Linked DNA regions of Homo sapiens: all the other regions are linked to region 2. Evidence: promoter capture Hi-C in 16 types of primary human blood cells and fetal thymus (Javierre and others, 2016). All regions are on one chromosome and are shown on one strand. Each heading gives the region's core, a stretch centred on a gene start or on the middle of the fragment in contact. The rest is flanking DNA. Distances are from core to core; before and after follow the strand shown.

Evidence for each region. The method cuts DNA at HindIII sites, captures the fragments that hold promoters and counts their contacts. A CHiCAGO score of 5 or more calls a contact.
Region 1: a fragment that was not itself captured here is called in contact with the fragment with the promoter of KLHDC10 in region 2 in 12 of 17 cell types (megakaryocytes, naive B cells, total B cells and 9 more); the score reaches 10.1 in megakaryocytes.
Region 3: a fragment that was not itself captured here is called in contact with the fragment with the promoter of KLHDC10 in region 2 in 2 of 17 cell types (megakaryocytes and endothelial precursors); the score reaches 6.9 in megakaryocytes.
Region 4: a fragment that was not itself captured here is called in contact with the fragment with the promoter of KLHDC10 in region 2 in 1 of 17 cell types (megakaryocytes); the score reaches 6.4 in megakaryocytes.

Annotation. Positions count from the first base shown.
Region 1 is chr7:130,675,075-130,678,165 of GRCh38, reverse strand. The region is part of intron 5 of TSGA13 (testis specific 13); the gene reads left to right. Among named protein-coding and RNA genes, the nearest start is that of COPG2, 7.9 kb to the right of the region's middle. RefSeq lists an enhancer at 1,296-1,852. The HindIII fragment of the contact is 4,053 bases long and covers 1-3,091 here.
Region 2 is chr7:130,069,083-130,071,787 of GRCh38, reverse strand. It overlaps KLHDC10 (kelch domain containing 10), which reads right to left and starts at 1,254. Exons shown (of 10, transcript NM_014997.4): 1 at 979-1,254. The coding sequence starts at 1,144. RefSeq lists a silencer at 1,050-1,219 and enhancers at 1,320-1,509, 1,540-1,739. The HindIII fragment of the contact is 10,740 bases long and covers 98-2,705 here.
Region 3 is chr7:130,611,697-130,614,541 of GRCh38, reverse strand. COPG2 (coat protein complex I subunit gamma 2) reads left to right here. Exons shown (of 24, transcript NM_012133.6): 7 at 906-998; 8 at 2,304-2,390. Among named protein-coding and RNA genes, the nearest start is that of COPG2, 56 kb to the left of the region's middle. The HindIII fragment of the contact is 1,276 bases long and covers 720-1,995 here.
Region 4 is chr7:130,652,146-130,654,989 of GRCh38, reverse strand. COPG2 (coat protein complex I subunit gamma 2) reads left to right here. Exons shown (of 24, transcript NM_012133.6): 5 at 2,042-2,121. Among named protein-coding and RNA genes, the nearest start is that of COPG2, 15 kb to the left of the region's middle. The HindIII fragment of the contact is 5,306 bases long and covers 1-2,844 here.

The DNA of each region.
Region 1 (3,091 bases), core at 283-2,782, 610 kb before region 2:
ACCTTGTGATCCACCCGCCTTGGCCTCCCAAAGTGCTGGGATTACAGGCGTGAGCCATCGCGCCCGGCCTACACAGTAGCCAAATCTTTGAAACTCCTTTATAGACTAAAGAAATTCAAATTCCATTCAACAAGCAATTGCTGAGGATACAGTAAGCTAAAAACCAGAATATAAAGATGATTACAGGACAGTTTCTGTCTTAAAGGAACTTGGAATCTAATAGGAGAAAGATCAATAAATGAGGTATGTTAAAGTAATAGAAGAATATACAAAATACAGAAGTAATGTAGAATACAGTATTTCTGTTGGGAAAAAGGGAGTGAGTAGGGAAGTGACCCATGACAAAAGAACAGGAAAATATCAAATCAGAGGAAAGAGCAAAAGCATGAAGACATGGGAAAATGAGGTGCATTCAGGAAGATGTAAGAGAGTAAATGGCAGGGCCAGGCGCAGTGGCTCACGCCTGTAATCCCAGCACTTTGGGAGGCTGAGGCGGGCAGATCACTTGAGATAAGGAGTTTGACACCAGCTTGGCCAACATGGTGAAACCCCATCTCTCCTAAAAATACAAAAATTAGCCATGCGTGGTGCTGCATGCCTGTAGTCCCAGCTACTCAGGAGGCTGAGGGAGGAGAATCGCTTGAACCTGGGAGGTGGAGGTTGCAGTGAGCCAAGATAGCGCTACTGCATTCCAGCATGGGCGACAGGGCGAGACTCTATCTCAAAAAAAAAAAGAAAAAGCAAATAGAGTAAATGGCAGGAGACAAAAGGATGTAATCAAATTTGCATTTTAGGAAGACTGTTTTGGAGGTTGAAGAAAGGTGCATTAGTAGTTGTGGAAGAGACAAAACCCAGAAAGATGAGTTATAATGTTACTAAAATAGTCAAGGTGAGAGATACTGAAGACCTGAACTAAATCATTAGCAGAGGAAGTAGAGAAAATTTAATTATGAGATATTTAAGAATCAAAATCTGGCCGGGAGCAGTGGCTCACGCCTGTAATCCCAGCACTTTGGGAGGCCAAGGCAGGTGGATCACGAGGTCAGGAGATTGAGACCATCCTGGCTAACCCAGTGAAACCCCGTCTCTACTAAAAATACAAAAAATTAGCCGGGCGTGGTAGCGGGCGCCTGTACTCCCAGCTACTCCGGAGGCTGAGGCAGGAAAATGGAGTGAACGTGGGAGGCGGAGCTCGCAGTGAGCCGAGATCGCACCACTGCACTCCAGCCTGGGCGACAGAGGGAGACTCAGTCTCAAAAAAAAAAAAAAGAATCAAAATCTAAAAAAGGTCATGATAGCCTCAAGAGCGGGTCTAATCTAACAAGAACAAATTAAATAAATGAGTTAAGTGAAAGTGCAAACAAAGGATTCTAGTAGAAATTTTATGCTGGGCATGGGATTACCCAAGTGAGACCCTTATAATAAAATGTGGTGAATTTGGAGTTAGTGTTTCCATAGTTCCTAGATGGATGACAGTGAGAGATTCTCCTTCAAGTGGAAGATAAAATGCTAATATCCAATGGCATGTACTAACAAAGGAGTTAATGAATTTACCGCATGTGGTCTCTTGGGTCTCAGAATTTGTGCCCTTTGAAGGTAAGCTCACTGGTAGTTTCTCATGGCAGTGGGTGGACCATACATTGAGAAAGGGATAAATGCCAGGCCAGGATTGCCCTGCTTAATGCGCAGAAGGAAATACAAAGCTATCATGTAAACTGGGTGTGGGAAGAGCTTTCTTCCAACAGCCTGCACACTTTGTGAACCCTCCAGTTCAGGTGCAGAATCTAATCATATTGATGAGCAAATTGTGGTACCAGTTAAATTGTACTAATGGATAAAGTTAAGGCTCAAAGACTGGCACCATGGTAATTTTATGGGGCTATCAGACTGGAACAAGCCCAAGAAGATTGAAACGTGTGATATCTACAATGCCTCTTTAATATTCATGCAGCATCCTTTCCTTCCCTTGCTGGACAAATGTGATAATCTTTTGTAAACCTAGAATCATTTACAAGAAAAGCATTCTTTGTTATGCCCAGGCATGCATCCAAAAAGACTGTGAGTTCTAGTAGGCAAGTTATGGAATGTACTAGATATATCTATTACAGTGATTGTCATACTAACAGCCCCTTCTAAGTGAAACTGACCCTACCACAGTCTCCTGAGTAAGGGAATATCCTGAGAAGTTCTATTTTGTACAACAGGACCGTGTCCCCACTCCTAGTTGAGACCAGAGGAGGATATCAGACCCAACAAAGCAAAATTCATAGGCTGGGTAGTGACCTGTGATGTGGATTGGTACCCTAAAACCAAAACAAACAAAAAACAAATCAAAACAAAAACCAACCAACCTACCAACATCCAGAATCCCTGAGCTAATCAGATTCTTGTTTCCAGGTCTCTGAATTGAGAAATGAAAAGATTGAAGCAGTAGGAATGAAAGCTAAAAGGACACATAAGAGTAAGGCTAGAAGACTCAAACCGGCCTGGCGCAGTGGCTCACGCCTGTAAGCCCAGCACTTTGGGAGGCCGAGGCAGGCAGATCACGAGGTCAGGAGATTGAGACCATCCTGGCTAACGTGGTGAAACCCTGTCTCTACTAAAAATACAAAAAATTAGCCAGGCGTGGTGGCACATGCCTGTAGTCCTAGCTACTCCGGAGGCTAACACAGGAGAATTGCTTGAACTTGGGAGGTGGAGGTTGCAGTGAGTGGAGACTGTGCCACTGCAGTCCAGCCCAGGCAACAGAGTGAGATTCCATCCCCTCCCCACCCCACCCCCCCCAAAAAAAGACTCAAACCATGAGGAAGAAAGGTAGTGAAGAGGCCATGAAGTCGAGTATGGGAAGGCTGAAGTTATAGGGAAGTAGGAAGTAGAAGTAAATAAGCAGAAGCTATAGGTAGAAAAAAACCCATATATATATACATATATATATATATACACACATATTTATGGAGTAAAGGTGAGGAGTGAACAAGGTAAAGGGAGAAGAAGGAAGCAGATAGGAAGAAAGTAGGAGAAACATGTGAGTGATATGTTTGCATTAAGACAGTGGTCCTTCACTAGTGCTGTCTTGGATTCCAAATAACTT
Region 2 (2,705 bases), core at 5-2,504:
CAAATATATCACTAATATAATCAATATTATTCACAAAAAACACGATGAATAATTAACACATCATTCCTGATAGTTCTTTTCATAGTAAAAATAAGCTTGCCCAGTGGGATATTTGACGTTCTCTGCATTATTTAATTCCCTACCTTCCTTCTACTAGATTGAATATTCAATTACAAACATACCTCTTTAAAATTGTCTACACATACATATCCACTTGATTTTATTTTGTTTTCAAAAGCATCTGAACTCAAGGCTAGGGCACTGTAGACCAAAATGTCAAATAATTGTATTGGGTACATTTTTCCAATTCTCAGTTGTTTTTATATTGTAAACACAGCATAATTGTGTCACTAAGTATATTTTTGATCTTCACTTTCTCCCCTTAAAACCTAGACACCATTATCCTGTCTCTGAACATTCCAAAATATTAATAATCCAACTAGTTTTCCCTAATCCTCTAGGTTCTCTTTCCCATACACTCCCCAGCCAACACTCCCCCACCCCTTTCTTCCGTTTCAGAATGCCTCTTACACACACGCCCCGTGTAGTTTTTACAAAATCACTCCTTGGAATGCGTTTCCTTCTTCTCTCCTTAACTTGGCACCCTTTTTGAAATAATTTCCCACAGCTAGGCGCCAATGTCTTTCATTTACAAGATCAAACTGCGGAAGGGGAAGAGATTGGGAATCGAGTAACCGAAACATTTGGAAATGTCAATGAGACAGTGGCCTCTCCTTTGAAAAGAAAACACAACTCTCAGCACAGAGCTTTCAACAGAGCACAGATACTTTTCTTCGCTGTGCTCCTGTTCCCTCCCTGACCTCAAAGACACCTTCCCTTTTCTCTGATCCCCAGTCCCTCTGCTATGCGTGGGGCCTGCCTTTCCTCCTCCCAAGGAAAAGCAAGCCAGGGAGAAAAAGAAAAGGTAGCAGTCACCTTCCCGCCCGCAAGCGGTCAGGACCCTGTCCCACGACTCACCTGGCAGGTGCGGCCGCCCGGAGAGTTGCACGAAGCGGTTGAGCTGGCCAGTCCCCCGACCCCCGCTGCCCCCACTGCCCCCGCCGGCCCCGCTACCTCCGCCACCAGCGCCGGCGGCGCCTCCTCCCCTCCGGCGGTTCCTGTCCCAGCCCTGGGCGGCCGACATGACCCGCTAACGATTGCCGCAGCCCGGTCCCGTCAGCGCCTGACCCAGCGGAACCAGCGGAGCCTCCTTCCTGGGCTCCTCCAGAGACCCAGGAGACAGGGGAAGGGGGCAGCGCCCGGTCCCACCAGAGACCAATGACTTACCGCCTTGGTGAAAGGCAGCCAATGGTCAGTCGTTTTCTTGGTAGGTGGCGGGAGGCGGAGAGAAACGTGGTAACCATAGCTATGGCTAAAAAAAAAAAAGTAGGGGGAGAGAAAGGCAGAAGCAGCCACTCCTAGCTCTCATCGTCCGCTCTGGGCTGGCCGGCGTCACCCCGACTCCTGCGGGGCCAGGCGGGCCAATCGAAGACCGAGTGTCAGAGGCCGCGCCTGCGGAAAGACTCCCGGGGACGGCCAGTGCCTCAGTCTTGGTTAGGATTCAGGAACTTTTTCCCATAAACATTGCAATCAGACACTGGATATACGCATAATACACATATTTGGGGGCAAGACGGTATTCTGCCAGCTTTTCAGATTGAGATCCCATTCACTGATGGTTGACACACACAAAGGGCTTGCTTGGGGTCCGGGTAGGTGAGGGGACCCAGGGGCGGAGTCAAAGCTAAAATGTAAGAACCAGATATTCCTGGGTTTCATTTGTCTTTCAGTCGGCTTAGCTGCATTTGTCCCTGTATAAGCCACGTCCCAATCAAACAGTTTTAAACCTGGTTAACAAATATGGGAAAATGTTCACTCTCACCTGTAATCTTAGAAATACAAAATAAAACCCCAATGAGAAACCATTTCTGGTTTATTACATCAGTAAAGACTTTTCAAATAACACCTGGCAGTGTGTGGAATGCCAAGAAAAAGGTATTCTCATAGATGGCTGATGGCTCTGTAAATATTTTTGTTCGCTCAAACTCCTTTTGGCTAGTAGAAAATTTTAATCAGCTTGGAAGATATATAATCAAGAGGAAATGTAAAATTAAATAAAAGGCAGCAACGGGTATGGAAGATCAAGATCAAAGAAAATTTTTAATGTGCCGATCAGGAGTTTCTATTGTTCCAAAATTAAACAGAAATTTTGGCTTGAAACTTACTGGGCGCAATGCAGACTGGGAAAACATACTATACACTGATGTTTCTGAATGATAAGGAAAAAGCATATCAAATTCCTCAAGGGAAACAAAACTTTTCAAGGTCCTTAGATGTGACAGATTTTTTTTTCTTTTGCATTAGAAGAACCTTACATGGTTGCAGAGAAAAAAAAGAAACTCTGCTGGAGCTGAGGACAAATACCCTTTGTACCTGGTGTGCAAATTTCTGGTCGCCACTGGCACTGCCTCCTTGTTTTCCTACTTCCAGTCCCTGTAGGCAGAAATGTTTTAGTCACTAGCACCATAGCACGCTGCTTATGAAAATGTTTGAGACTTGAAAAAAAAAAAAGCCTATGGTTCTAAAATATAAAAACCAAAATTAATATATGTTAACTGTTTTTTTTTTTTTTTGAGACGGAGTCTTACTCTGTCGCCGAGACTGGAGTGCAGAGGCATGATCTCGGTTCACTGCAACCTCTGCCT
Region 3 (2,845 bases), core at 108-2,607, 540 kb before region 2:
TCTTTCTGGGAACTCTGAGTAGGAAGGGTAGGCCAGGCATTACCAAGCAAATTGAATAATAGCTATATACCCATGCTTGGGTATATTTTAGGTGTATGTTTGTAACCTTCTTAAGTTGTAAAGGTTGAGCAGGACCAAATTATACATCTGATAAATCTGGATTCTAGAAGGAGTAATAGAAATGCTTTAATATTTTTTGGTGCACTGTTGTTCTGTTGTGATTGTTTTTTATTTTTTGCATTACATTGGTAGCAGCGTGAGACTTGACCATGCTAGTGCTAGCAATAAAACTCTTTTTTTCATCTGAATATTGCTCTCAGTCTTTTTACTCATCTTTATCTGCCACCACCTTCCCAGTGCTTTTTCCCAGTTAAAGTTAAAAAGAACTGTATTTCCAGAGGATTTTATGTTGAGGGCTCACTATAGTAGTACACTACACATTTAATTCTTTATGTATCTCAGATAATCAGGGATTACGTTTGATTTCTAGGACTCTCTGGGATCTGTATATAATATGTGCCCTTCACATAGAGGAATCTTCATAACTTCAAAAGCAGGCTCCATCTCCATATAGGAATTTCTTTATGACTTTCCTGATGGGTTCAGCCTCTGCTTGTGTATTTCTTCCAAACTGAGATTCTCCATTTTGAGACAGTTTATTTCATTGTTGAACAGTTATTCTTCTTTATATATAATCTTAAATGTTCTTTCTTAAAGCTTCAACTTCGTTGTTTGGGTTCTGCCCTTTGGGATATTATTACTATATTATCATCCTTTTAGTGCATTCTGAATATTTGCACAGAAACAAATATAAGATTGGTTTTTGAAAATTATTTTGAAGCATAAGAGTAATTTTGCATAAGCATGTTTTTCCTTAACAATTTTTTCTTTTTGAATGTTATTAGGGAACAATGTTGCAAGCCATTGAAAGATACATGAAGCAGGCCATTGTGGATAAAGTTTCCAGTGTATCCAGTTCAGCACTGGTATCTTCCCTGGTAAGTGAACAAGCAGCTTCCTAGTTCTTAAGCATGGTACAGTTTTGAGTTGCGAAAACAAAGTATCACTATGATTGTCTCACAAATGAAACAGTTAAAAATATGTATACACCTCTATTACTTTATCCAAGTGTGTTTTATCTAGAGCAGGGGTCCCCACCCCAGGGCTTCAGACCAGTACTGGTCTGTGACCTGTCAGGAACTGGGCTGCACAGCAGGTGGTGAGTGGCAGGCAAGCGAGCATTGCTGCCTGAGCTCCGCCTCCTGCCAGACCAGCAGCAGTGTGAGATTCTCATAGGAGCTCGAACCCTATTGTGAGCTGCGCATGCAGGGATCTAGGTTGCCGGCCTCATATGAGAATCTAATGCCTAATGATCTGAGGTGGAACAGTTTCATCCAAAAACTATCCCTCTGCCCTCTGTCCATGGGAAAATTGTCTTCCATAAAACCAATCCCTGGTGCCAAAAAGGTTGGAGATTGCTGATCTATAGGATCATTGAGCAATTAAAAACATAAAATGTTCGTATGTTTGAAAGGTTTTGGAAATCTGAAAGTTATGTTGTACACATAATAAAAGAGGGGTAAGTGTGGGGTATGGGACAGGAAAGAAACCTAGGACCCTTTTCTTTCATTTAAAATCTTCTTTATGACCTGCCTTTATGACTTCTACTACTTGTCTCTTTGTCCTCTGCTTTTTCTGGTGCCCTTTGTCTACGTGTATCCTTCAATCCAAAGTTTCCTGTCCCACTTCTGAATTTCCTCCCAGGAAGTGGTCTTTTTTTTAGTAATACATTTTTCTTTCCGTTTTTCAGCAGAACACAATTTATACATTAAAACCTATCACATTGCATTTGATTAACGTCAGTTACCTATATGTGAATGTGTAAGACATCTAAATACAAGAGTTCCTGATTCTGGAATATAATTGGCTGAGTTTTATAGCAGAGAATATACTAGTACTCTCTTTCTTCCAGGGGAGTTTCCTGGAAGTAAAGCTTGTTATGATAACGTTATTTAAGCACCGTTCTGTTGACTGTCCATCCCTATCCTGTTCTTCCTCTTTCATTACTTCCTTTTACACACCTCTCCCAGCTTACATATACTCACCTTTGTAACAGGTATGGGAGAAAATACTTCTGGTTTATCAGTTGCTCCAGGAGTAAAGACACAAAATAGACTTATAAGAGCTACATAGTTTTCTTCCTCTTGGGAAATGTCTGTGATTTTCAAAGAAAACTAACTCATGTTTCTAAGCTTCTAGTGACCAAGCATTATTTATTCTCATTTTTTTTTTTCTGTATTTAGCACATGATGAAGATAAGCTATGATGTGGTTAAGCGCTGGATCAATGAAGCCCAAGAAGCTGCATCAAGTGATAATATTATGGTCCAGGTATTGTCATTGAATCACATTAGCTTGTCTCAGGATCAGCATTCTTTAAACCTGTATTGTAGGGGCAGTGTATCGATTCCCTAGATAAACATTAACTAAAGGCAAATTAAGCAGCTACTAGTACGTATTCTGAAGTAGGAATCTCACTAATTATGATTACTGCCATTTGAATACTGCCCTTCAGGTGTTTCATAGAAGCTAGATGACCCTTTGTAGGAATATTTGGGAAAGATTGTTATATTCAGTAGTAGATTGAGATGCTCGTGGCAGTCTTTTATTTGAAAAATAATTTGTGTAAAAAGATAATTCCAAGTTCTGAGGCCTTGATTATAGGCATTATAAAAATCATACGGAGCAGCTTTTACTTTATGAAACTTTGAAACCATTTTGTCAAAAAGAGCTCTTTTGATATTTATTAGGTTATTCTTAAGAGGAATAAGATTAAATTCTTCACT
Region 4 (2,844 bases), core at 66-2,565, 580 kb before region 2:
TAACAAGAATAAAGCATAAAATAGGAGAGATACAAAGAGATCCAAATACACTTCCCAAAAATTAAAAAAAAAGAAAAGAAATATATAAAATGAAAACTACACTGCATGGGGTTAATAGCAAATTAGAGATGTAGGACAAACAAACAAACAAACAAAAAAACCCAGGGTCATTGAAGACAGCAGTAGAAGTCCAAAATAAAGCAGAGAGGAAAAAAAGACAGAGTAGAAATAAACAGAGCATCAGCAACCTGTGGGGTAATACTTTGGAAGTTTTTTTATTGTTTATATTCAAAATTGCAATGGGTTTTTGACTTATCAAAATCAAATACTCATCTTTGTGTTTTCCCTACTCATGGGAAATTCGAGAGTCTTAGGATACTCTGATTCCTTATACGTATATGAGTATATCAACATATGTGTATATATACATACACACGTGCACATTTACATTAATATATTCTATGCCATCATTTTCTTGTGAGTCTTGTTTGCTCATTGTGACTTACTCCTGTCTTTAGCACTTTTTAAAAACTCTTCATTCCTTGCTCTATTTCTGAGTTACTCTGGAATGATTTTCCTTGTGCTTGAAGAATATACCTTTTAGAACCTCATTTTGGTAGATGTTAGATACTATATTCCATGCCAGTAAGATCCTTCTGTGGCTGTGAATGTTTGGTTGTCTTCATTTCTAGCATCTGTGAATTTCTCTTTATTTTGTCCTTGGCTACACATTTAAAATTTTTGTTCTGATTTTATTCAGCATTTCTGTGTATTTGTTTATGCAGTATGTTTTAGTGGTTAAGAGCACATTTTTGGCCAACATTTTGTGTTGTTTGTCTTTTGAATTTTCACCATTTTGGTGGGTGTGAGGTAGTTTCTGAAACGTGGTTTTAATTTTTCATTGGATAAGTAATTTTCATTTCCCTGATGACTAATAATGTTGAGCCCCCATTTTTTGTGTTTTAATGAAATTTTTTTCGTATCTCTAGTTTTCTTCTGCTTCTCACAGAACTTTTTTTTTCTTTAAATTGGGGTGGGGTGTTCCTGAAATTTTGATTCTTATTTTTTGTTTTCTTCTCATAGTAGCTTTGATCTGCCCCATGTGTGTGCCTATACTGGCTTTCTGTGTGTGTTTTTTTTCTGTTTTTAATCACCACGAGGATCCTCACTCTCTTTTCTTTCCTTAATGGGTTCAGTAGTATCAAGGTTTTCTCCATAGCTTGGACTCTGGAGCTGCGTCTGATGTATTTGGGTTTCTCTACTTAAAAGAAATTTGAGGTTACTCAGTAAGGGATGAGGCTGGACAGACTAGAGGAACCTGGTGTCTGGCTGCTGCCCATTTATCCATAGTGTATGAATAAATCAGAGATCCAGTTGAGTCGGGGAGAGTAGGTGGAGCATTGTTAGCTTAGTACTTACTTGGATCCAGGTATTCATCTAGAAATCTCATTTAGGGTTCAGGAGGAAACATTGGTATACACTGAACTGAGGAAAGTGCAGAGTTTGCACATTTTCCAGGAATGAGCCTTTAATTAATACTGTACGCCGTCTCTACTAAAAATACAAAAATTAGCCAGGTGTGGTGGTGAGTGCCTGTAATTCCAGCTACCCAGGAGGCTGCGGCAGGAGAATTGCTTGAACCCCGGAGGCGGAGGTTGTGGTGAGCCACGATTGCGCCATTGCACTCCAGCCTAGGCAACAGAGCGTAACTCTGTCTCAAAAAAACAAAACAAGACAAAACAAAAAACCTTTGTCTTTGGACTCAAGCTATCATAGTCTAAGTTTGTATCTCTCAGTAGAAAGATCCATATAATTGAATTTTTAAGTTTTTACCTATTGTGTCAATGCATCAGTTGTGTTTAGGAAATATTAGTATTCTGAATAGTTTCTCACCCAGATATTAATTTTTTTTTTTGGTAGATGAGACTCTTTTAAAGAATATCTTTCTAAAATATATATCTACTTGGGGTCCTCACTTCAAATAATTTAAAAAACCATTTCCTAATCAATAATCTGTTACCTTTTATAAATGATTTTTCAGCAAACATTGAGGAGAATGTGCTACCTTACCATCAAAGAAATGGCTACCATCTCTGAGGATGTGATAATTGTCACAAGCAGGTATGTAAATGGTCAAAATCTAGGATGAGATACTTATATATTTGCTGTTTGCTTTCTGTTGATTTCATTTTTTGACCATAAGAAAGCCAATAGGAATTTAAAAGAATATAATATCTTAAAGCATTCTTTTCTAAAATGAAGTTTTCATCATGTGAAAGCCATCCTTATCTGATAAAGCAAAGGAAGAAGTTACAAAAGATAATACTGATAGATTTGAGTGCATCAAAATTTTCATAAAAATGGATAAAACTAAAAAGTAAAAGATAACGTGCACTGAAATAAAATATTTACAACAAATACATCAAAGGCTAGCATCTGTAATATATAAAGAACTTTTAAAAAGAAACAAGTGATAATTCATCAAATAACCAATATAAAGGATCTAAACGTCTTTAGATAGTCGTTCTCACTAGTAACCAAAAAACATAAATTAAAAATTCAAGAATGAGGTATAATATTTTTTACTCATCAAAATGGCAAAAAAGCAAACAGGCAGCATTCAGTACTTGTGTAAGGGAGACATACTCTTGTACAAAGGAGACAGAGTAATAAATTGATTCAATTTTTCTAGAAAGTAATTTAGCAACATTTATTGAATAATTGAAAGGCTTTATCCCTTTGACCTAGTAAGGCCACATCTGTGGAACTATCCTTGGAAAATAATCAGACATAACACAGAAAAACTTATATATATTGATGTTTGTTGCAACACCATTTACAGTA